Linked DNA regions of Homo sapiens: regions 1, 2, 3, 4, 5 and 6 are each linked to region 7. Evidence: promoter capture Hi-C in 16 types of primary human blood cells and fetal thymus (Javierre and others, 2016). All regions are on one chromosome and are shown on one strand. The core of a region is centred on a gene start or on the middle of the fragment in contact, and the rest is flanking DNA. Distances in the headings are between cores, read along the strand shown.

Region 1 (3,240 bases), core at 662-3,161, 420 kb before region 7:
CCATTTAAATTTCAATTCAGGTCAGGCAAAGTTGCTCTCACCTGTAATCCCAGCACTTTGGGAGGCTGAAGTGGGTGGATCATTTGAGGTCAGGAGTTTGAGACCAGCCTGGCCAACATGGTGAAACCCCATCTCTACTAAAAATATAAAAATTAGCCAAGCATGGTGGCATGTGCCTGTAGATCCAGCTACTCAGGAGGCTAAGGCAGGAGAATCGCTTAAACCCGGGAGGTCGAGGTTGCAGTGAGCCAAGATCTCGCCATTGCACTCCAGCCTGGACGGCAGGATGAGACTCCATCTCATCAATCAATCAATCAATCAATCAACCAACCAATCAATTTCAATTCAAATTAATTAACCTTAAAATCGAATGAGAAATCCAACTCTTCAGTCCCCCCAGGCACATTTCAACTGTTCAAAAGCCAAATGTAGCTAGTGGCTACCATGTGGAATAGAACAGATATAGGATATATTCATCATCACAGAGAATTCTATTGGACAGTGTTGAGAGAGTCTAGGCTTATCTCCTTCTTCCATTTCCCACAGCACTTATTTCTCTTGTCATTACCCTTCTCAATCCACCACCAAACCCCTGTCATTCTCAGCAGTTGTCATCAACTTGTAATTCATCCACTCCCCTTTCTCTCTGGTACCTTCAATGTTCCCTGGCTCTACTGGGCTTCAGTTTAGCATTTGAACATGCTCAGCCCTGGGGCAGAGAGAAAGGGAAAAGGAGGTGAAAAGGAGAGAAAGGGAGGGGGAGAAAGGAGGAGGAGAAACACCCTCCCTTGGCTCTGTAACACCCTTAACCCCTCCTTCCTTAATGCCCTTAACTTCTTCCCTGTAATTCCCACTTCTCTGAGGACCTGATTTTACTGTACCTCTTAGATCCAACATGGCTTGGCTAATACCACTTTGGGAAAAATTTCTACTGCCTTAGTTTTCAGGACAACCAGCCTCTCCTTCTATCACTGATCTTTCCTGCAATCTCCTTACACTCTTCTTCTTCTGTCTACTGTTTGCAAGTTGATGTTCCCCAAGGCTTTCTCTAAGTCCTATTTTATCCCTACCTACATAGTTACCCTGGACCAGCTCATTCATTCCAATGTTTTCATCTACTAGTTCTATAACCACTGATACTAAAGTCAGTGTCTAGTCCAGATTCCCCTGAACAGCTCCAGAATATTTTATCCTAATGCTTCCTGGGCATCTCAACCTAGATAGCCTATAAGCACCTCAAACTCAAGTAAAATCATCTTCCTCGCTGCTATGGTCTGAATGTTTATGTTCCTCTCCTCAGATTCATGTTGAAACCTAATGGTCAATGTGATGGTATTAAGCGGTGGAGCCTTTAGGAGCTGATTAGGTCATGAGGGTGGATCCCTCATGAATGAGATTAGTGCCCTTATAAAAGATGCCCAAGGAAGCCTGCTTGCCCCTTCCACGTGTGAGAACACAGTGAGAAGACCCCATCTAGGAGGAACAGGCCCTTACCAGACACTGAATCTTCTGGTACCTTGATCTGGACTTCCCAGCCTCCAGAACTGCGAGAAATACATTTATATTGTTTATAAGCTACTCAGTTGATAGCATTTTTGTTGTAGCAGGCCAAAAAGACTAAGACACTCTCTAAAACATGCTCCTTCCTTCTGCGCCCTCTTCTCAGTTAATGATACTCTATCCCACCCAGTCACTCAGGCCAAAATTCAGGGGCCTCACGGATTTTACCCGCATCCTTATTCCCATAGCACCTCAATTACAACAATTATTAATCAACATCTTTAATAAATAAAATAAATCAATATCCAATATTAATTATCTTAATCTCCCGAAAAGATGTGACTACTGCCACCTAGTGGCAAAATACAGACAACTAGAAATGGTGGTTACTGCATATTATAATAAAGTATAATAAAAGTACAAGGAGAAAGGCACATTAAGGAATACATGCCCTTGGCTGCCTAGGAAAGTCAGAGACACCTCCAGAGAGGAGGTAGTACCCTTGAGCTAACTTGCAAAGGAACACACGAAGTTTGCCAGGTTTCAAGTAGAATAGATAGTATGAGCCTGGACACAAAGCAAGGAAGGCTGGGCAAACCTGTCAGCAGATAAGTTTATTCAGAAAGTAAAGTAATGAGCTGGGCACAGTGGTATGTACCTGCAGTCTCAGCTGCTTGGGAAGCAGAGGCAGGAGGATCACTTGAGCCCAGGAGATCCAGGCTGCAGTGAGCTATGATTGCATTACTGCCCTCCAGCCTGGACAACATAGTAAGACCCCATCTCTAAAAAAACAAAACAAATAAAAACCAGAAGGTAAAGTGATAGAATCGGAGTCTAAGCAATGAGAAATGAGGCCAAAGAGATGGACAAGAATCAGACTGTGAATGGTCTTGAATGCTATGCAAAGAAGTTTGGTCTTCATCCTGGATGGGATTTTTAAGCAGCTGAGCAAAATCAGATCAGATTTCCTCTTTCCTTAAAATGGTCACTCTGGAGACTGTATAGAGGATAGCCTGGGTAGGAGGTAGGGGAAATCAGGGGGCAGGGAGAGGAGAGAGGAAGCAAAGTAGTCCTGGTAACAGAGGCTGAGAGCCCACAGTCGGACAGGGGTGGTGAGGATGAGGAGGAAGGGCCAAATTTGCAAACAATTTTGAGAATTTAAACTGTCAGAACTTCTGAACTGATTGGTAAATGGGAAGACGCAGAGGAAGAGATCTAGGATGTTGCCTACATTTTTTGCTTTGGTAGTGGATGGAGAGTAGAGCCACTAACCAAGACAGGAAACAGAGGAGGAAGACAAGCAGGATGAGAGAAGGGGTACAGAAATGAGGAGTCTAATTGTTATTTTTGAAGTACCTGTACTGCTTCTCAAGCCTGTGTTATCTCTATTGATGAAGAACACCAGGATCTATGGGGCAGGCAGAGCAAAAGAGCCCAAGGAGAAAGAACCAGAGAAGTAGGAGAACCAGGAGAAAGAGGTACCCTGGAGCTCAAAGGAGAAACAAGTGTCTCAAAGGAGGGAGGACCAGTAATGTTACATCCACTGACAAGCATGCTCTCAGTTCATGCAAGGTTCTGCGGCTTTAGAACACAGCAAGGCACAATCCTGACCTCTAGAGACGGCAGTCTAGTTGGAAGAAAGATGAATAATTAACACAAGGCAGAACAGTGGGTAATTAATAATTATACAAACCCAATACATAGTATTTACTATGTGCCAGTCATTGTTCTGTATACTCT
Region 2 (3,016 bases), core at 114-2,613, 480 kb before region 7:
AGGTTATTTCTAGGGTATCTCTGTGCATTGCTATTGTTAGAGTAGCTTATATTGATCATATTTTTATTCTTCTTTAGTACATGGGGTTGGCTAACATTGTTAGTGAAGTTCAAAGGTTCTCACCATGATTTGCTTTGGTGGCTGGGAGGAGATGTTGAGTGTAGGTCTATTGGGTCTATGAAATTTTACACACAAGCATGCCCATATTACTGAATGCCTGTTTTATTCCAGGCAATGTGCTCCATGTATAAAAGTGGTAAGATTTGGTTCCCACCATGAAGCATGTCATAATTTAGTGGCGAGTAAATGTGTATAGAAAGTATGAAGAAATAAGTGCTATGAGAATGAAACAATGGGAACTCAGTGATAAACATAACATTCTCTCTCACACATACACTCATAAATGGCATTATTGTATCCTTATGACAGATTTTAATTCTTCTGCTGTTTTAGAAGGACCATCCCCCATAGTAACTGAACTATTCTGCCTTGGAGACAGATCACTGTCTTCACAGTTTATTAGACTTGAATTTAATTTTGGCTTTGCCCTGATTCCTTGTGAGACTTTGAACAATTTACTTACTCCACTGCAATTCAGTTTTCCAATATACAGAATAAGACATTTATAAGGTTCTTCATTTGAAAAAAAACTCTATGATATAAATTATTGTTGTTATACCAGAGCTATTTAAAAAGTTTTAGGGGGTGGGGTGAAAAAAAACTTTTCTACAGAGAGTACAATGCTAGAGTCCCCTCTGGGTTTTGTGCTAAGATTTTCTGGAGCATTATCAGAATATGAACACATCTTAGGATTTTTGCAAAGGAAGAAATAAAATAAATTTATACTGTTGTTCCTACCAAAGTTGGAATGTAGAAAACCTTTTGTAAACTTGAAATTTCTGATTTATTATTTGCTATAAGTTTGTTGTTCTTACTTGATTTTTCTTAAAGAAAAGTCTACAAATATTATGGAAATATTCCTTAGTACTTTATTTTTAAACAGCCCCAAATCATGTTCCCTACTTATTAACATATATTATAGTCTGGGTGGTTCTTTTACTGTTTTAAGGCTGCTGTTTCCTCTTCCGCAGCCAGATTTACTTTTGCTTTCTGGATTGCAGGGTGTTGTGTATGTAGTAGTGGGGATGGGAGTGATTATATGGGAAAAGCCTGAGATCCAAGGGGGATGACCAAGCTACAAGAACACTTCTACTCTTGCAGCTACTGAGTTGGAAGTACAGTTCTGGCATGTGTGTTTCTGTGTGTGTGCATGTGTGTGTGTCACAAACATGAACATACTAGTATTACATAAATGTGTGTGCATGTGTTTTGGGGGAAGGAAAAAGGGGAGAATACAACAGCTGTTACATAGGCATGGTTAAGCACCGAGTACATCATCATCATCTTTAGCCCAGTTAAAGCACTATCTACAGCTAAAATTAACCTTGATATTATTGGACTATTATGTCCAAAAGATACATCAGCTTTCTGTTTGTTAGGAGAGTGGGATGTAAAGCCCTTAAGAAGTAGTACTGTGTACTCCACTATATACTCTTTCAAGGCATATTTATCCTCTTTGGTCACCATCTGCCAGCCTGAATTTCCAGAAGATTCTATATTGTTCCTACTTGGTATTGTGTATTTAATATATTTTAGGGGGCTTAAATATTAATTTCTATTAAGTATTAGTTCCCTATTGAAGCAAAAAATACACTTTTTTTTTTTTTCGAGACAGAGTCTCGCTCAGTCGCCCAGGCTGGACTGCAGTGGCGTGATCTCAGTACACTGCAAGCTCCGCCTCCTGGGTTCACGCCATTCTCCTGCCTCAGCCTCCTGAGTAGCTGGGACTACAGGCGCCCACCACTATGACTGGCTAATTTTTTGTATTTTTAGTAGAGATGGGGTTTCACCGTGTTATCCAGGATGGTCTCGATCTCCTGACCTCGTGATCCACCCACCTCGGCCTCCCAAAGTGCTGGGATTACAGGCGTGAGCCACCGTGCCTGGCCCCCATTTTTTTTTTTTACTTTTAATATACAAGTATTTGAAAGTGAATTAGTTACTGTTAGAATGGCTATGCTAAGAGGAAAAGCCCATCCTTTTCAGTTAGTTCATCATTGTTTCAGGTATTTGGCAGAAGAGAAATTTGTATACAACGAATAAGGGTGGAAATTATATTTTTAAGTACAAGAATGTGATTTGGTCTTAAAAAAATATGTACCTTACTCAGTGATTGAAAATGGAGTAATAGTATTGTGGGAATGATATTCTAAGGGTTATCCTTAATGATTCTGAAAAAGCATTACTAAACACAGAATGCCAAAATGGAATTAAAGGCATTAAAAAATTATACGTTGACACAATTTCACTTCTAGGTATATACCCAAAAGAATTGAAGTGTTGAAACAAAAACTTGTGCATGAATGTTCATAACAGCACTGTTCACAATAGCCAGAAGGTGGAAACATCCCAAATGTTTATCAACAGATGAATGGATAAATAGAATATGTTATATTCATACAATTGAACATTACTCAGCCATAAAAAGAAGTGAAATACATGCTACAACATGAATGAACCATGAATACATTATGCTAAGTGAAAGAAGTGAAACACAGAAAGCCACATTCCGTATGACTCCATTTATGTGAGATATCCAGAATGAGCAAATCCATAGAGATAGAAAGCAGATTAATAGTTGCTAGGGGCTAGGGGGAGGGGTAAATGGGAAGTGACTACTTAATGGTACAGGGTTGCCATTTGGAGTGGTGAGAAAGTTCTGGAACCAGATAGTGGTGGTGGTTGTACAATATTGTGAATGTATTTAATACCACTGAATTGTACACTTTAAAATTGTTAAAATGGCAAATTTTATGTGTATTTTACTACAATAAAAATGGAAAATAAACTTTATACATATATTCTGTTCATAATAGCAATTTTAACTTATCAAAGAAGAAAATTTTTTAAATTAAAAACATATAATGAGAGAAATGTGAGTCATTTATAATTACAC
Region 3 (3,175 bases), core at 394-2,893, 460 kb before region 7:
GTTTACATAGCCCCTTTTAAATGTTAATTCGTTCCATTTAAGTTTTCCATTTTCAGATGCAACTGGGTATTTTTCCTCTTGGAAATAGTACGTACTTTGCTTTGGTATGTAGCAAAAGGCTTCCATTTCTGGAAGGGTTTTCTTGTTCTTAAACAAGGTCAGCCAGGTACCAGATTCTAAAAGAACAAATTGTCCCCCACCCCTCAAGTGGCCTTCTGACTGCACGAGAATGTGCTACTACCCTCTGTAGTCTCCCCTAACACGAGAGGTCAGTGAAATTGATGGAGGAAGTGCAAGGCTTGCTTCCCCTCACCCTTAAAGCTTAAAGCAGTTGTAAGATTTTCAGTCCAGCACATACAGTCCCAGTGCCCAGCACACCGGAAGTTTGTATACTGGCCTCTTATCTTGTCTTCAAATGTGCAGGAAATTTGAAACTGTCATCTGGAATAGGTTCCATCTCTTATGTGTGTTAGATCAAACCAAAGAAGCCCCCAGCCATGCCCAAATGCTGCTTCAAAAGCCTGCCTTCCAGTCCTTACAAAAACCTTGCAGGATTAAATGTGTTAACTTTTTTATTTTTGTACAGTTTCTAAGTGATTTTTGCTAGTGATGTTAAAATGAATTAAGTTTATTTGAGGGGTGTGAGCACCTCCTCCATTTAAATAAACTGGTGACTTTCCTTTTATTTTTTAAAAGTGGAAACCCGTTGTGTGCCTCTCGATTTAAGGGTTTCTGATGACATTATTCTTAAGACCAGCATTGATCCTTTATATACAAATATATGTTTTCCTTGTTTTTTATTGCTATTTCAGAAGAAAATGAACCTTTTATTTTGCTCTACCCAGTAACTGCGCTGGTACATAGACGCACTGAGCAAACAAACTTTTGTAACCACCTCTGACTACTTTTGTATATCAAAGTTGATTACTTTTGAAATATTTGGATCTAGTTTCTAAGTTATTTTAGTGTTTTATATGTTCCCCAAAATTACTTTGAATCTGTCACCAGCATAATGAGTTCTTGGTGATACAATGGTGAGACTTGTAATGAGCAAAAAGCTACCTGGAGTAGCTCCTCTTTTCCTTCTTTCTTAGTAACCTGTTTTTTGATTACCGTAAGACATCACAGATTACCTGAAACCCCTTCCAGTATAACTAGGCCCTCCTTCCTTCCACATTTAATTGCTTAATAGTTTGAAGAAACTATTGGAAATGGGCATTTTATATGACATGTATGGCTTTACAATATTAAATATGAGCAAAAAGAAAAAATATGAGAAGGTTTATGTGGGTCTGTAAGGTATGGCTGTGGAAAGATATTGTAGTAGTTTTGACACTATTGTTATTACCTTTAAAATCATTTACCCAATAAAATGTTAAAACCGAGTTATCATTTTATGTTTCTTTTTTAAGTTTAACCTCTCTCATCATAGGATCTTGGTCTCGTCGGTACTTCTTACTAAAAGGTTAACAGTTGAAGGCTCTGAAGGAATATAGTTAGGAACAGATACTGATTTATTGCCAAACTAGCACTTGGGAAACCTTACCTGCTTGTAGCCACTCCCTGCCATATGATTTGCCAATGTCATCCTTTTGTCTATCTCTGAATCCTGGCTTGCTGATATAGATTAGCCTTTATTTGGACACCCTAACCTGGCCACATTGATCCTTTAAGGATCCTTCAGATCCTTTGCCACAGAACTCAGGCAAATATCAGACTTGAATTCTGGCGGGAGCTTAGCTGTGCTTAGGTCCGCTCCAAATCAGTCAGTGGTTATTGGGCATTTCCTCTTTGTGAGCTGGTGAGGGGCAGTAGCAGTGCTATTCAGTTAAATCATCTGATATGGGGACCCCTTCTCCTACCATCAAGGCTTGCCCATTTTCTGAGTATAGGACAGAGTCTGAAAATGCTCAAGATGTGGTCACCCAGAGCTTGTACGTACTCATACACACACTAGGCATACCACACGCTTACACTTATTACCAGCTATTTTTTCCAGTTCCAGATTGGTACCCCCAACTTGGGCTTGGGGGAAACACCTGGATTGTAGGGTAGGGCAACTGGTGGTATTGACTTTCAAGGGCCAGATAAGAGCCTATGTCAAGAAAGGAATCTCTTGGGGTGCTGCCTCTGCCTACTGTTGCCTTATCCCTTTCTCTATGGAAAGGCTACCAAGGACATTGTACTTGTGTATGGAAATACCTCTGGCTCTTTCTAAAACATTTGCTGTCTCACGCACATTTCAAGATTAGCTGCTAGTTGAATATATCCAGGACAATTTCTGTTACATTGCCCCAAAGCCCTGGTAACCATGTAAATTTTATGACACGTGCTTATGTCAATCACAGTGGCTAAAAAGTGTTCTTAGATCCTAGAGGACTATTGTGGTTTTAACCAGTGCTCCATAAAGGCAGCCATCTGCTCAGGTTTTACCTATTTTCATCATTCATGTTTAATGGGACATAAGATTTTTCAATGATTTCGACCATATTAATAGGTTCAGGTAGAATGAAGTAGTTTAATGAGCCCACAGCATTCTTTTTTACAGCATTAGTGGTTAACTCTGGTCTGGACAAATTTCAACTTCAGTAATCACACTCCACCTACCTAAATTCTTCCCAGAGTTTCAGCATTTCCACTTTAGATTTCATGCCCCTCTGGACCCTGTGTAAATAGCTTTACTGCTTCCGAGGGCAAGTATGGGCGTGTAGGATGAAGCAGTGCCCCTCTGTTGCTGGGAAATACTACCCTATCTAAGGGGTCCTATCAGTGTGAGGTAAGGAGAAGTCTGCGGTGGAGAAGTCACACCGGGATTCAGAGCTGCCAGCCAGGACAGCCAGTGAATGACTGCCCATTCAGAGAATGGCTTCTCCCACTTCCTGCAGCTTCAACCACATAAGCCAAGATAAGTATGGGTTTGGGTTGGGTAAGCTCTCATAGCTTCCCATCTGTATGCTCAAGCTTTTCACCTACAGGAGGAAGAAATGAATGGGAGGATGCAAGTGAGGAAAGCCCTGGATATACTATTTTTGGCTACTGCATTAAAAGGCCTGCCTTGACACCTGTAGCCCCATGGGACAATCTCGTGTTCAAACCTCAAACTTGTTGGAAGAACTCTTTCAAGAATTGGAGGGAATCACATTAGGTCTCAAGCACTGTTCTGAAGCCAATCTAC
Region 4 (3,329 bases), core at 819-3,318, 320 kb before region 7:
TGCCTAAGGTCGCACAACTAATAAGTGAGTCAAAGAGTCAGGCCTGGAACCCAAAACTATCTGATTCCAGAGGTCATGTTTGTTGCCAATACTACCTTTTGTCTCCACCATAAGATAATTTATCTTTTCTGGAGTTCCCTCTGCCTCCACTCCACATAGTGCCTAACACACCATCGGACATATAAAAGTCCTCCAGAACACATGCGCACATCTGCCTCTGCTCCCTGTCCAGAGCCCAGCCCAGGACATAAGCTGGAAGAGAAGGGAAGACGGTGTAGTTAGCATGAAGGGGCTTGACCTTTCAGGGAGCCACAGGAGTCCTCCTCCTCTGACCCATTTAAGAGAGGATCATGCTGCTCCTTGACCTCAATCCCAGAAAAATATGTAGAACAGGATGACCTGGTTACCTTGAAACTCGTCAAGAAAACTCTGAAGTAACAGAGCCTAGGCCAACCCATGGGAGGGATGGATGGTATCCAGTTCCCTGAAGCAAGAGGACCAATTGTGTCAGAGTCAAAGCCACATGGGACAGCTAATGTTTGCAGTGCTCCACCACCAATGAACTCTATGGCCAAAGTTGGGGTTTTTATGATGGTGGGGGAGAGGTGTATTTTTTTTAAAAGAAAGTATTTTTTACACCTCCTTAAGCCTCAGTTTTCTCATTGTTTAAAACAGAAATAAGAATACCTACCATTTGCAGTGCTTCTAAGGCATAAAATGAGAATGTAATAAAAGCACCTATTTCCTGGTGCCTACATCAGTTTGTTCTTCCTGAGGTTCTGAGCACACAGTGATGCAGGACATAATTCCTGTCTGCAAGAAGCTCACAGTCTGGCTAGCAAAGGTCTTCTACGGCACCCTGTCAACCAAAATTAAAGCTGGTTGGTGAGTTAGCCTAACTCTCAGCAAGACATTTTATCAAAGGAAAATTTTGGTGGGAAAGAAGGTAAGAGCTGTTGGCAAGAGTAAAGATTGTGGGTTATATCTTTGCTTTCCTATCTTTGCTGCAAATCTCCCATCCACACCTTTGTATTAAAAAATTGGGAAAGGGGACTCCATTAATCACTGTTTTAAAAAATGATGCATGTAGGCCAGGCATGGTGGCTCACGCCTGTAATCCCAGCACTTTGGGAGGCCAAGGTGGGCAGATCATGAGGTGAAAAGATCAAGACCATCCTGGCCAACATGGTGAAACCCCGTCTCTACTAAAAATACAAAAAAATTAGCTGGGCATGGTGGTGCATGCCTGTAGCCCCACCTACTCGGGAGGCTGAGGCAGGAGAATCGCTTGAACCTGGAAGGCGGAAGGTGCAGTCAGCCAAGATGGCGCCACTGCACTCCAGCCTATGCGACAGAGCAAGACTCCGTCTCAAAAAAAAAAAAAAAAAAAAAAACAGATGCATGTAAATGCTGTTCTTTTCCTTCACAACACATATCACCATTTCTCATTTATATTTAGCTATGTTTTCATTAAATGTTGATCTTCCCTGCTGACCATAAGCTTCTGGAGAGCAGGAGCTGTGTGATGGTCCTCACTGTAGGTCCAGAACTTAACACAGTGCCTGGAACATATGAGATGCTCATCAGGTACTTGCTGAATGAATAAATGAAACAAGATGTCTCCATACAATATGGATAGACTTGGTTACCTAAGCAAAAGCCATTTTAGAATATTCAAGCCTTGTTTATGCATGCAGTAATTCTCAGGATTTCCAAGAATCTGGTAATGGCAGTTTGTTTCTGGGGAGAAGAACTAGTGGATCAGGGGTCAGAGGTTGGAGGGAATCATATATGCTATTCTATTCCTTTAAAATTGTATGAATTTTTAAATAACAACCAAACATAAATATACCAGATATAATGGATTTGCTCTATTTGAAGCCCAAAGAAACAAACAAAACCCAAGCCTTTCCATAGGAAAGCAAAATCTTGGAGGGAAGCGGAAGGAGATTGTGCCCTTGTGTGACTAAAATCCTAAGAATCAGGGGTCCTTAAGAATGAGGTTGATTTATATGTACTAACATGGACTGATGGCTAAGATATTAAGGAAAAAAAAATACAAACATTGTTGAATGATCCCATTTTTAGAATAAAAATATAAAATGTTTAGCATATGCAGAGATAAAAATCAGAAGGAAAAACATGCTTACAATGGATATGTCTGGGAGACCGACTTCTAGGGGACTTTTGTTTGCTATGTGTCATATTCCTATAATGTTCCGGGCTTGAATCATGAACATCTGTTGCTTTTATGTTAGGAAAATACTATTAAAAGGCAATTTCACTAAAAATATAAGTATGGTGCCTAACTCTGCTAACCACCTGGGGCATGAGAAGGGAGTCAGCTGGAAGCTGAGGCAGGTTTGAAAACCTGGAATGCGCTGTCCAAACCACACTGGGAATGAAGCTGCTGTTCCTCCATACAGATAACCCTTCTTCAAGCAACTGGAAAGATTTCTTTTAATCCTCAAGCCACTGTTACAGCCCAGAAGCCAAGCCAGCTGAATAACTGGATTTTCTTTCTTTCTTTCTTTCTTTCTTTCTTTTTTTTTTTTTGAAAGAAAGTTACCTCTCTTTTGTATGCAACAATAATGACAGGGGGGTCACAGTAAGCCTCTTTAAATTCTTAAGCTTTAGTGCTTCTCTGTTCTAGGCAGGTAAAACTAAGGTACAGAAAAGTTGATTCTATTTCCTTCACCTGGCTCAAACAGCCAGAACCAAGTTGTTTGGCTTTGCTGTAAAACCCAGCAGTTCTAAATACTGAATGCACATTAGACTCACGTAGGCAGTTTATTGTTTCATAAAAGAAAAAAAAATTCCTGGGGCCTACTCCTCAAGATGCCTACTCAACTGGTTGGGCCTGGGGCCTGGGCATCAGTATTTTAAAGTGCTCCAGCTGATTTCAATGTACAGCCGGGTTTACAAGTCACTGTTCTACCCACTGCTTAATATCCCAGTAACCTTAGAGAAAGGGACCTTAGTCACCATTTTAAAAAATCTTCTTTACACTGTATATTCCCCTCAAAGGAAGGCAAGCTGAAGAAGCCTGTAACCAAGACAACAAGCTGGGAGCACAAAGAGATAGGTCTTCTGTGATTTGAAACCAAAGGAAGCAGAAGAGAAAAAGTAGAAATCTGAAAGCAGGTACTGAAAAATGGAAAGAAATTAGATAACAAAGACATCCTGTCTGAGAAAGTTCCCAAATGTTAGCACGTCAAACTTCTGTTCCACCTCCCAAACTAGGCGCCTTGATACAGATGCCCTAATGGCTGAAAGCAACCCTGAATTAGCAATTAAACCCTTAAAAACTTGCTTTCTTCTTAATGGAA
Region 5 (3,364 bases), core at 567-3,066, 390 kb before region 7:
GGAACTGGCAGCAGAGAGCAAGACCATTCCTGAACAATGGGAATGTTTCTAACACGATGTAGTGAGCCTGCCTCATGCCTCCAAACTCCGTGCACAGAAACAGAGTCACTCAGACCATTCCCCACAAGGTGGGGCTTTAGGCCCATGAGCCCAGGGAACCTGAGACTTCATCTCCTGAGCCAGGACTCTGGGGGCCCCCAGCCCTTTGATTGCAGTGCCCCTTCTTGCCCAGAATACTTTCTAGTATTTGCAACCCCCACCCGAGCCAGTTCTCCTCTCTCCTCCAGGGGAACTGCAGGGGGAAAAAACTACATACAGTGGAGGAAAATTACCAGGACGCCATCATCTGCAGCTCCACTTCCCAGTTCATACCGGTGCTCTCTTTTCAGCCACTTTGAAAGTTTTTTTGTTTTGTTTTTGTCGTTATTCCTCCCCGCAACAATCATTTCGCTGGGCTCCAAATCTGCCTCTTGATTCTAAGTCAAAGCCATTCTCAAAAGCACCTTAATAGCAACTCAAATATTTCCTATTATTATTAATAAATAATCTTAGCTAACCTTTATTGAGCATTTACTACTTTGTATCAGGCATTGTGGTAAGCACTTTACATGCATTACCTTATTAAAGATTCAGGAATTGTTATGACCGTCCTCATTTTACAATGTAAAACAGGCTCTGAGACAGGCTATTGATGCTGTAGAAGGAAGACTGGAACAGTGATTTGGCTAGATTAAAAGCCTGGGCTCTGCTGACTAGGTATCTTTGATGATTTTAAGGAATTATTGCTAGTTATTATAGGTATGATAATGGTATTGTAATGTTTATTTTTTACTGTGTCCTTACATTTCAGACATGCATAATGAAATACTTACAGTTAAAATTACATGAGATTTTCTTCCAAATAATCCAGGGATAGGTGTTTGTGTTGGGGGTGGAATGGATTTGTGGTGGAGTGAGGTGTATTGTTAAAAAGAAAAAGATGGGCTATGTGGTGACAATCATTGAAACTGGGTGACAGATGCATTAGGGAACATTTTTTCTACTTTTGTGTATGCTTTCAATTTTCTACAATATAAAATTATATACATACACTCCTGTTCTTATCCACTACATCATAGGACCTCCTAGCTTACGAAGTTTTTCCACCCCAAACTCCTTTCCTGCGTTAGCTCCTCTGGCCGGATCCTACCACCAAAGCTTCCTCAACTGGCACCCATGCAGTACCGGGACCCAGAAGTGATCACTCTTTCCTTGGACTTTCTAAAGAAACCCTCAGTTTGCCCTAAAGTCTCAGTTCACTCCACTCAAGGTCCTAGGCGTGTGGGACCTAAGGGGAGGTTGGCAGGCCACCTGTTGAGGTAAGAGATGGGCCTCAGGAGGAGCTCTGCCTACCCCCCGATTCTTTTTATGCAATGGAAAACTGAATTCATCTTGCCAGTTGGCACCCAACAAAGGATTATTTCATTGAATCCTCATAATAACTATGATGTACCTTTCTCCCTCCCTCCCTGCTTCCCTCTTTCCGTCCAGCCAGCCTGCCTTCCTGCCTTCCTGCCTGCCTGCCTGCCTGCCTGCCTTCCTGCCTTCCTTCCTTCCTTCCTTCCTTCCTTCCTTCCTTCCTTCCTTCCTTCCTTCCTTCCATTTGTTATTACAGGTTCTCACTCTGTCACCCACGCTGGAGTGTATGGCATGATCATGGCTCATGGTAACCTTGAACTGTTAGGCTCAAGTGATCCTCCTGCCTCAGCCTCCCAAGTAGGTGAGACTACAGACACATACCGCCACGCCTGGCTAATTTTTTAAAAAAAATTTTGGTAGAGACCGGTCTCACTATGTTGGCCAGTCTGGTCTCAAATTCCTGGGCTCAAGTGACCCTCCCACATCGGCCTTCTGACTAGCTGGGACTACAGGCACATGCCACCATGGCTGGCTAATTATTTTATTTTTTGTACAGACAGGGTCTCACTTTGTTGCCCAGGCTGGTCTCAACACTTCGGCTCAAGTGATCCTTCCTCCTGAGCCTCCCAAAGTGTTGCAGTTATAGGCGTGAGCCACCAGGCCCAGCCAGTGATAGAGGTAATATTTCTGTTGTACAGATGAGGCGATTGAGCAAAGTTCAGTTGCTTAAATAACCCTGAAGTCTCTTGCTCAGAGTGTCCATTAACCAAAGGCATCTCATTCAGTACTTATGCAACAGGGGAGGTGGAAAGAGCACTGATGTGGAAGTCAGAAGACCTGAGTGCTGAACCAAGATCTGCCAATCACTGGCTATGTGGCCTCAGGCTAGTCAATCCCCCTGGGCCTTATCATCTGAACACTATATTGCTCATTTTGCTTTCTTTCAACTTTGCTTTCCAGCCCTTTTCAACATTCACACACACACACACTAATCCCCAGAAGATCTTGTTACAATGCACACTCAGTTTCAAAGCTTTCTACAAAGCTACAGCAATCAAGACAGTGTGGTGCTGGCATATGGATAGACATATAGAGAAATGAGATAGAACTGAGGGTCTAAAAATAAACCTTCACATTTATTTTTCATTGATTTTTAGAAAGGATACCAAGATATTTCAATGGGGATGGATAGAAGAGTCTTTTCAACAAATGGTGCTGGGACAACTGGATATCCACATGAAAAAAATGAATTTGGACCCCTTCCTCACACTACACATAAAGATTAACTCAAAATGGATCATAGACCTAAATGTAAGAGCCAACACTATGAAACTCTTAGAAGAAAACAGTCATATATCTTCATGATCTTGGACTAGACAACAGTTTCTTAGATGTGATACCAAAAGCACAAGCAGCCAAATCAAAAATAGAGAAATTAGACTTTATCAAAATTAAAATATTTTGTGCCTCAAAGGATACAATCAAGCAAATGCAATGACAACCCACAGAATGGGAGAAAATGCTTCAAATTATATATCAGATAAGGGTTTAATATCCAGAAAGAACAATTATAACTGAACAATGAAAACAACCCAATTAAAATTTGGGAAAGGATCTGAAAAGATATTTCTCCAAAAAGACATACAAATAGCTAGTAAGTACATGAAAAAGTGTTCAACATCATTAGTTATCAGAGAAATAGCATTCAAAAATCCGAAATCTGAAATGTTCCTGAATATGAAACTTTTTTTATCAGATATTTTATTTTTTTATTTTATTTTATTTTATTATTATTATACTTTAAGTTTTAGGGTACATGTGCACAATGTGCAGGTTACATATGTATACATGTGCCATGCTGGTGTGCTGCACCCATTAACTCGTCATTTAGCATTAGGTATATCTCCTAAAGCTATCCCTCCCCCCTCCCCCAACCCCACAACAGTCCCCAGAGTGTGATGTTCCC
Region 6 (3,389 bases), core at 288-2,787, 510 kb before region 7:
TGAGTGATGGCTTGTCAGAAATGATCTTTCTGTGATGGCTGAAAACTTTGGGAGGACCAAAGTTTCAGGTGAGCAATCCTAGGTCATAGCTTCACATCCTGCCATTTATTATCTAGTTAATTATGCTTGATTCTGCTTGATACAAAAATAAAATTTGCATTCAACAAACAAAACAGTACCTCACCTCTTTTTCACAAAGAAGAAGATTTGGGCTAGAGATTGGGAGATTTTGTATTTAGCAAATTTTTAAAAGTCCTTTTGAGATGTGTCTTCTAAGGGCTTTTGTTTGCTATCATTAACTGTGGGAATATTTGCTCCTGAATGGATCCCACCTTATGCTGAGCCCAGCTTCCCTTGTCATTCCCCCTGCAATAAATACTATACAATAAGTGTCTATGTAACAAATAAACAGTTTGGAGGTTAAATGGAATGCTCAATATAATAAAGCTCCATTGCAGTAGGGAGAAAAGTCCTTTTGATATGCATTTGATAGGAATGTGTTAATTTCAACAAAACATCTGGTATAAAAGAGTTGTGAATGCAGGACATTTGAGGGGGTTACAGAAGGAGAAGGGATTTACTGTGCTTAACAATTGCCAGTAGTCAGGCCACTTCCAAGTTGTGATTTTGTCAGACTTAGAAATTAAGTGGGATCACATCTACTCAGCCCTTCAGTGGGAGAAGATCCAAATCCAGCTGCAGCAAGGAGCAGTGACTGATTCAGAAGTAGTGAGCTCTATCCAGTGTCTCCTAGCTGGTTTTCATTAATATGCTTACTATTGCCCTCTTTATATTCTGGCTTTTTAAAAAAATATGGCCTTTGTGGTTTATTGGTTGAACTTGTACAGCTGAATCTACTGTAAAAGGTCTTTTTTCACTGGCATTATGTCCTACAGATTTGAGTGTTCTTGCTGTTCTATATAAGATAATTCAAACTTAGAATAGTCACTATAGTTTCAAAGCTTGATTGAAAGATACATTCAGTGTTTTCTCTAAATATGTAGCAATTATAACAACACAGCTGTAGTTAAATACATAACTTATTATAAATCCTGACAGTCTTCCTTCTCATTTATATCAGGCTGACATAAGGTTTAGTCAGTTCAATTCCACATTTATCGAGCACTTAACTCTGACCATGGTACTGTACTAGGTACTATGCAGCTACAAAGATCAACAGTACATGATGTCTGTGCTCAAGAGCTGAGTGATGTCTTTTGAGGGAAATTGGCATGTACACAAAATAACTGCATTAGATGTAGAAACAATGCTACTGGAAGTGGGAGAAATTAGCTCTAGTTGGATAGATTGGGGAAGGTTTTACTGACTAGCTGACATGTAAGCCGAACCTCTATGGACATATACGACTCAATTTCAACATTCAAAAGTGGGGATATGGAGAAGATATTCATTATGCATCCAGAAAACTTCCTGAGCCAAATGTAAGGAGACAGAGAAATATATATGAGAAGAGAAATATATACAAGCAGCCCAAGTTACATCCCTGACTATTACTATTACCCTGACTCGGGCTGCTTGTATTAATATATAGGATGGAATGGAAAGGATAGAGATTAGAGAAGCAGTTATGAAGCTAATCTTAAATATTCCAAATGAAAGATGGTAGAGGCCTGAATTAGGTTAGTAACAGGAGGGATGTAAAGAAACATATAACAGAGACAAGGTAGTAATTGAACAAGATGAGACTTGTGGAAAGTAAGCTAAAGGGAAGAGTTGAAGATGGCTTCAAAGGTTCCTTCTTAGATGATGGGGCAGGGGGAGGATGATAAGATGAAAGGTGATAGGCAACACAAGACAAGAAGCACATTTGACACATTGTTTGTTAAAGAGTCATTTTTAATGTGAAAGTAATTTTTAATTAATCCTAGATTATCTTTTTCTGAATTTGAATGTTGAAGATTTTTTAAAATTAAGAATTTATTGAAAATTGTTTGCTTTCAGGATATGGTAGTGAGAGTGAAATAGAGTAATACATTATTATACATTGTATCTTATTAAATATTTTATTTAAAATTAAAATAAATAAAATAGTTGGAAAAGACCCTTGATATCATTATTTTCTCTTAGGCCATGCCACAAAGCAAAGCTTAGAAAATACAGCTGAATCCTCAAACTTCTTTCTAACCAAAAATACATTTTGTGGATAAGAAATCTATAAAGAAATAAATGTTTGTAAACATTGGGCGGTTGTTATGGAATTTAAATATCTGTTCTTATTACCTAAGAATGTCTGGGTTTCAAGGCTGAATTAAAATAGATTCCAGGCATCTTTAAAGGTAAACAACACATCTGTTGATTTGTCTAGTACAATGGAAACTGACTGAATTTTGATTATGATAAAAATCAGCATCTTCCATCTATTTAGCAATACTTTTGGGTAATCTTTTCTCCTTTGGGGAATTTTCCAGATGTTTGGGAATATGATTCCAATTTACAAGAGTTGTTTTTATATTGTAGCTGAGTGATGTCCTAACTATGAAACTCTTAGGTTGGTGTAACTGTATCCAAAGGGTCCTCTGCAATGTGTGTAGGAATGCCCTGTGACACCTTGGCTTCTTTGACTTGCCCAGACTCTCAAAGCTAGGTGGCTGGAAGGTTTCCTGGAGGCAGAGTCCAGTTCTCATTGTAGTAATTTACATTAACAAAGGAATTAACATTTCCAGCTATCTTCTGGGATCACTCAGTTTTGAGCAACATTCATATAATGCAGTGAAAATGAATAGCTAGTACCACAAAACAATTTAGATGGTTCCTTTGGTACAGACGTTGACTTGTATTTTCTGAAAGGAAGAGAAGCTCTGAAATTCAGTGAAAATGACAGGGCGGTTGCTATTGTACACATTATTAGAAAGAACCATTTCAAATAACAATTGTAAACATGTATTTTAATGCTAATATACTGTAATAGCCTAGCATTGAGTAGTGAAACAATTTCAGACAAGTGTCCAAATTGTTTTATGACTACATTTATTTCTTAGTATTTATTTAGAAAATTAGTAGTCAATGCTTAGTTTTATCCCAGTATGGATTATAACTTGTATAATATTCTATAGAAAAATGTTACCTAACTGGAATAACTCAGAGCTGCCTCCCTCTGCCCCAGCAGTTGGTTTGTGCCCTATGTTTGCTGATTACCTTAAATATTTGCCCAAGTCAAGCCATAATTTAAAAAGCAAAATTCTCATTTAAAGAGTCACAAGCTTAGGGTGTCAAGTTGTAGATGAGTTTGGACTTGTGGGCCCTCTTGTTCCTCCTGATTAACACTGATGATACAGAGATGACAAATATGATTAACCCAGCATATAAAGAGACATAACATCTTAAAAGAGAGGAGAGATTTTTGGTGACTTTCTTGGCCAATACTATTT
Region 7 (3,375 bases), core at 527-3,026:
CAGTAAGCTGAAGACTCTGTTCAGAGGAAATTACCTAATTGAAAATGTCTGGGCTAAGAGACCGACAATAAAGGAAACTGGCAAAAGTACTCTTTAATTACAAGTTCTTTTTCATCTTCATCCAGCACACTGATTTATGTGCTACACTGGGTTTGTATTATATCTATATTTTAATTCCACAACTAGACACTAACTTTATTGAGAACAGCGATATTCATTTCTTCAATTTCATTTGTGTTAACCCAACTGTAGGTGATAGTGCTCTGTACATCATAGTTACCCAGTGAATTACGTACCTGACATATGATTGCTTATTTCTGGTATTAAAACAAGATTTCATAAAATAAACATGACAATTAAACTCGTTGTTTGAAGTACTGAACTTTGTAGGTCAATCTTGAAAAAGGAAGCTACATGACTGTCTTAGCAATATTTATAGGTATATTATATGTAAGTGGGTGGGTTTCTTGGAAATTGAATTGGTAATATGGCTTTAGAGTAGTAACACAAAAACTATAGCTCTGTGCTCTCAGCTAACCACTTTTAGTGTCACCTGGGCTGCTTATTAAAAATTCAAATTTCTTATCCCTACCCAGATCAGAATCAAAATACCTGGGGGTTGTAGCTCCAGGTACCTACATTTCAACAAGCACCCCAGATAATTGTGATGCACACTGAAGAACTACTCTAGCTTGTAATCTCAGGTGGTAAGGCATTTTATATATACATATATATATACACACACACAAGCACAAATGGTAATTCTATGGGAAAATGGAAATCAGCAAGTGAAGTGAAATGTCAATTACCATCAGGAACAGGAAGCTAGTTCACCATTACGCATCAGGGAACTGGAAGAATTCTTGAGATTTATTTTTTTGGGTGATATATTCTTGGCAGTTTATCAGGCCTCATTTGCAATTATGGTCTGTCCCTTTTGAAGCCCTCAGATAGTTCGCTGGCATTTTAATTTTAATAGCAATTTCTTGCATCTGTTGGAACAGCATTCGTATGACCGGCTTATAAGCAATGATCAGGGCTAGTAAGATGTCACAAAGCTGCGGTGACTTTTCCTTATCAGTTGGGGGTTTTTTTGCCATGATACCATCGTGGAAATGAAAGACAACGTGAAAATCCTGCGTCCTTGTGATATTTCATCAGTGGGAGTGAGCGGGGATCTTAACGCAGTAAGAGGCAAGATAAACGGATGAGAGGCATTAGTTCAGGCTTACAGGAGCAAGATGCTTTTAGTCAAAGTGTTCAAGATAGCTCTCTTAAAGAGGAGCAGTGAAACCCAAAAATGAGTGTCTTTTGAGGGCAGCTGGAAGATGACCCGAGGGGAACTTTTATCCTGGGGTGGAGTCCTGCGAAGCAAGCCGCAGGTGAGGGCGTGGGCCAATTCTGCGCCTCACTGCTGTTAGGCGCAAGGACATCCCGAAACACACTCAACGACACCAGCAGCGAGACTGACAGAAGCGGATCGCCAGCGGGAGCAACAACTTGAGGCGAGCCGTTAGCCGCCTCGCCTTCCTCGCAGCGCCCCTCCCGCGCCCCGGGAAGCCCGTTCGGCTCCGCCTTTTCGACTGACGTCCCGGGCGAGCGGGGGCGGGCGCGTGGGTGGGCCGAGCCGTCTGCAGCCAGCGATTCGGCTGGCTCTGCCACACCACCGCGCGCCCCCGCTCCGCCCGCCCCTCCGGGCGCGTCTTTTCCGGGCTCGCGCTGAGTCCCGCCTCCGCCGGCTGTCCGGGTGCGCGCGCGCCGCTGCGGCTTTTTCTCTGGCCTCCGCCGCGCGCTCCTCCTCGTCCCAGCGCTAGCGGGCACGCGGTTCCTTTTTGCGAGCTTTCCGAGTGCCAGGCGCCGGCCGGCTGCGAAGACGCGGTGGGCCGCCCCTCCGGTGAGTATCCCTGGATGGGGAGGTTGCGGCCCCGGCACCCCTGCCCTGTCGGTACCAGGGCCCCATTTCCAGAGGGGGACTGGCGTACCTCACCTGAGCCGGGAGGAGGTTGGGTGGGCATTCCAGCTCCTGGAGTCGGCTCGCTTTTTTCCTTGAGCCAGGGCTATCTATCCGCTCGCCTCCGCTGGGGCCGGGAAGATTCCCGAGGTCACTGTATCTGCTCCTGTGATGGACTCTGGGGTCCTCGGAACCCCAGCCTGCCTCTTCCTGCCGCTCACCGCATCCCGAGGGCCAGAAGTCATCTTCCTGATCGGGGTACTAGGCTTTGCCACGGCCCTTTCCGGAGGAGACCATGAAGTGCTTGCTAGACCTCCAAACGACCTTTAGGGTGCCCCTAAACCTCAACTCCATTTTGTCCCCTCCCAGTCGCTCTGTAACTGAGGGCTAGGGAGCCTCTCTAGCCCTAGAGGCATCCGCCCTCTCGAATTTGAGGGATGCCGTCGCTTCCGATATCTTCCTTGCTTCCGATATCTTCCTAGCTTCCGTAGGCTTAGGTTTGTTAGAAAACAGCTGGATCCTGGCGAAGCGTGCTTTCCTTCCTTCCCCCACCCCCGTTCTTTCTGTCTACATCCCTGCCTTCAGTGGGTGCTATATATTTAGTATGAGCTTTATTCACTTCCTCTTCCTCTCGTTTGAGTGCCTGAAAGAACTGTGGCTGATGTCTATAGACATAGAAAAATCTAGGAGAATATGATTCATTGTCTAACCCCATCAAGGGGTTACATATTTTAAATAAGACGTCATTTCTCCTCTTCACTCCAGCATCTCCTCCTTCAAAGGCATTTTTCACCCTCTTGAAATTAATACGCTCTATTCGCTCTTTTCACCTAAAAAAAGGTCAATCGTCGCTCTGAGAAACAACAGTGAGATGCAAAATAAGGGTAAAATGGCATTGAAATGAATCCCTTTGAAAAAGTAAGCGGTTTGCTTTATCAGTTAATGGTCTCATCAGCGCTTCAGTTTCCTCTTCTGCAAAAATCAGTCTGTTGAACTAGAGCATATCAAAGGTTCCTTCTAGTGTTTTGATTCTAGGACCTCTAAATTCATGCAGGCTGCATAATGCAAATTTAACCTGATTAAAGCCTTATTTCTCATAGTCGCTTGTCACCTTAGTTTTTCTTTTATTTTGTCTCTAACAAGAAAGACTTTTAAATGTTCTTGATACGTAAGGCAGCAGGTGGAGATTCAATGATGGTACTGCCATTGAGCATATCGGTCAAGATTTTAACAGTGTAAGGCCTCTTCCTTAAATTGTAAAATAGCTCATCTTTTGATTGAAACTGCTAAAGTGTAAGACATGTAAGACTCCTGTTAGAATTAACACTCTCTGCCATTTAGGTGGGGGATGAAACATTAAACTGTTAGTATACTTGTACCTTAGAATAAAGTACCTTATTGTCCTGCTATAAGAAATAATTTGA

Evidence for each region. Contacts are between HindIII fragments. The CHiCAGO score rates a contact against its expected background, and 5 or more counts as called.
Region 1: a fragment that was not itself captured here is called in contact with the fragment with the promoter of ACSL4 in region 7 in 2 of 17 cell types (total B cells and neutrophils); the score reaches 6.1 in total B cells.
Region 2: a fragment that was not itself captured here is called in contact with the fragment with the promoter of ACSL4 in region 7 in 1 of 17 cell types (non-activated CD4 T cells); the score reaches 6.2 in non-activated CD4 T cells.
Region 3: a contact is called between a fragment that was not itself captured here and the fragment with the promoter of ACSL4 in region 7, in 1 of 17 cell types (neutrophils). The highest score is 6.0, in neutrophils.
Region 4: a fragment that was not itself captured here is called in contact with the fragment with the promoter of ACSL4 in region 7 in 1 of 17 cell types (neutrophils); the score reaches 5.0 in neutrophils.
Region 5: a fragment that was not itself captured here is called in contact with the fragment with the promoter of ACSL4 in region 7 in 1 of 17 cell types (M2 macrophages); the score reaches 5.3 in M2 macrophages.
Region 6: a fragment that was not itself captured here is called in contact with the fragment with the promoter of ACSL4 in region 7 in 2 of 17 cell types (total CD8 T cells and total B cells); the score reaches 8.0 in total CD8 T cells.

Annotation. Positions count from the first base shown.
Region 1 is chrX:110,154,966-110,158,205 of GRCh38, reverse strand. The region is part of intron 5 of TMEM164 (transmembrane protein 164); the gene reads right to left. Among named protein-coding and RNA genes, the nearest start is that of SNORD96B, 68 kb to the left of the region's middle. The HindIII fragment of the contact is 5,202 bases long and covers 1-3,240 here.
Region 2 is chrX:110,212,975-110,215,990 of GRCh38, reverse strand. All of the region lies in intron 3 of AMMECR1 (AMMECR nuclear protein 1), which reads left to right. Among named protein-coding and RNA genes, the nearest start is that of SNORD96B, 11 kb to the left of the region's middle. The HindIII fragment of the contact is 4,263 bases long and covers 1-3,016 here.
Region 3 is chrX:110,192,396-110,195,570 of GRCh38, reverse strand. It overlaps AMMECR1 (AMMECR nuclear protein 1), which reads left to right. Exons shown (of 6, transcript NM_015365.3): 6 at 1-1,385. Among named protein-coding and RNA genes, the nearest start is that of SNORD96B, 31 kb to the left of the region's middle. The HindIII fragment of the contact is 2,640 bases long and covers 324-2,963 here.
Region 4 is chrX:110,050,811-110,054,139 of GRCh38, reverse strand. The region is part of intron 2 of TMEM164 (transmembrane protein 164); the gene reads right to left. Among named protein-coding and RNA genes, the nearest start is that of MIR652, 2.9 kb to the left of the region's middle. The HindIII fragment of the contact is 1,130 bases long and covers 1,504-2,633 here.
Region 5 is chrX:110,122,398-110,125,761 of GRCh38, reverse strand. The region is part of intron 4 of TMEM164 (transmembrane protein 164); the gene reads right to left. Among named protein-coding and RNA genes, the nearest start is that of MIR3978, 42 kb to the right of the region's middle. The HindIII fragment of the contact is 1,234 bases long and covers 1,200-2,433 here.
Region 6 is chrX:110,242,451-110,245,839 of GRCh38, reverse strand. The region is part of intron 2 of AMMECR1 (AMMECR nuclear protein 1); the gene reads left to right. Among named protein-coding and RNA genes, the nearest start is that of SNORD96B, 19 kb to the right of the region's middle. RefSeq lists an enhancer at 276-825. The HindIII fragment of the contact is 1,145 bases long and covers 965-2,109 here.
Region 7 is chrX:109,731,658-109,735,032 of GRCh38, reverse strand. ACSL4 (acyl-CoA synthetase long chain family member 4) reads left to right here and starts at 1,776. Exons shown (of 16, transcript NM_001318510.2): 1 at 1,776-1,894. It overlaps LOC105373311 (a long non-coding RNA gene), which reads right to left and starts at 2,522. Exons shown (of 1, transcript NR_158569.1): 1 at 75-2,522. RefSeq lists silencers at 1,514-1,823, 1,921-2,041 and enhancers at 2,164-2,303, 2,364-2,413. The HindIII fragment of the contact is 5,191 bases long and covers 1-3,375 here.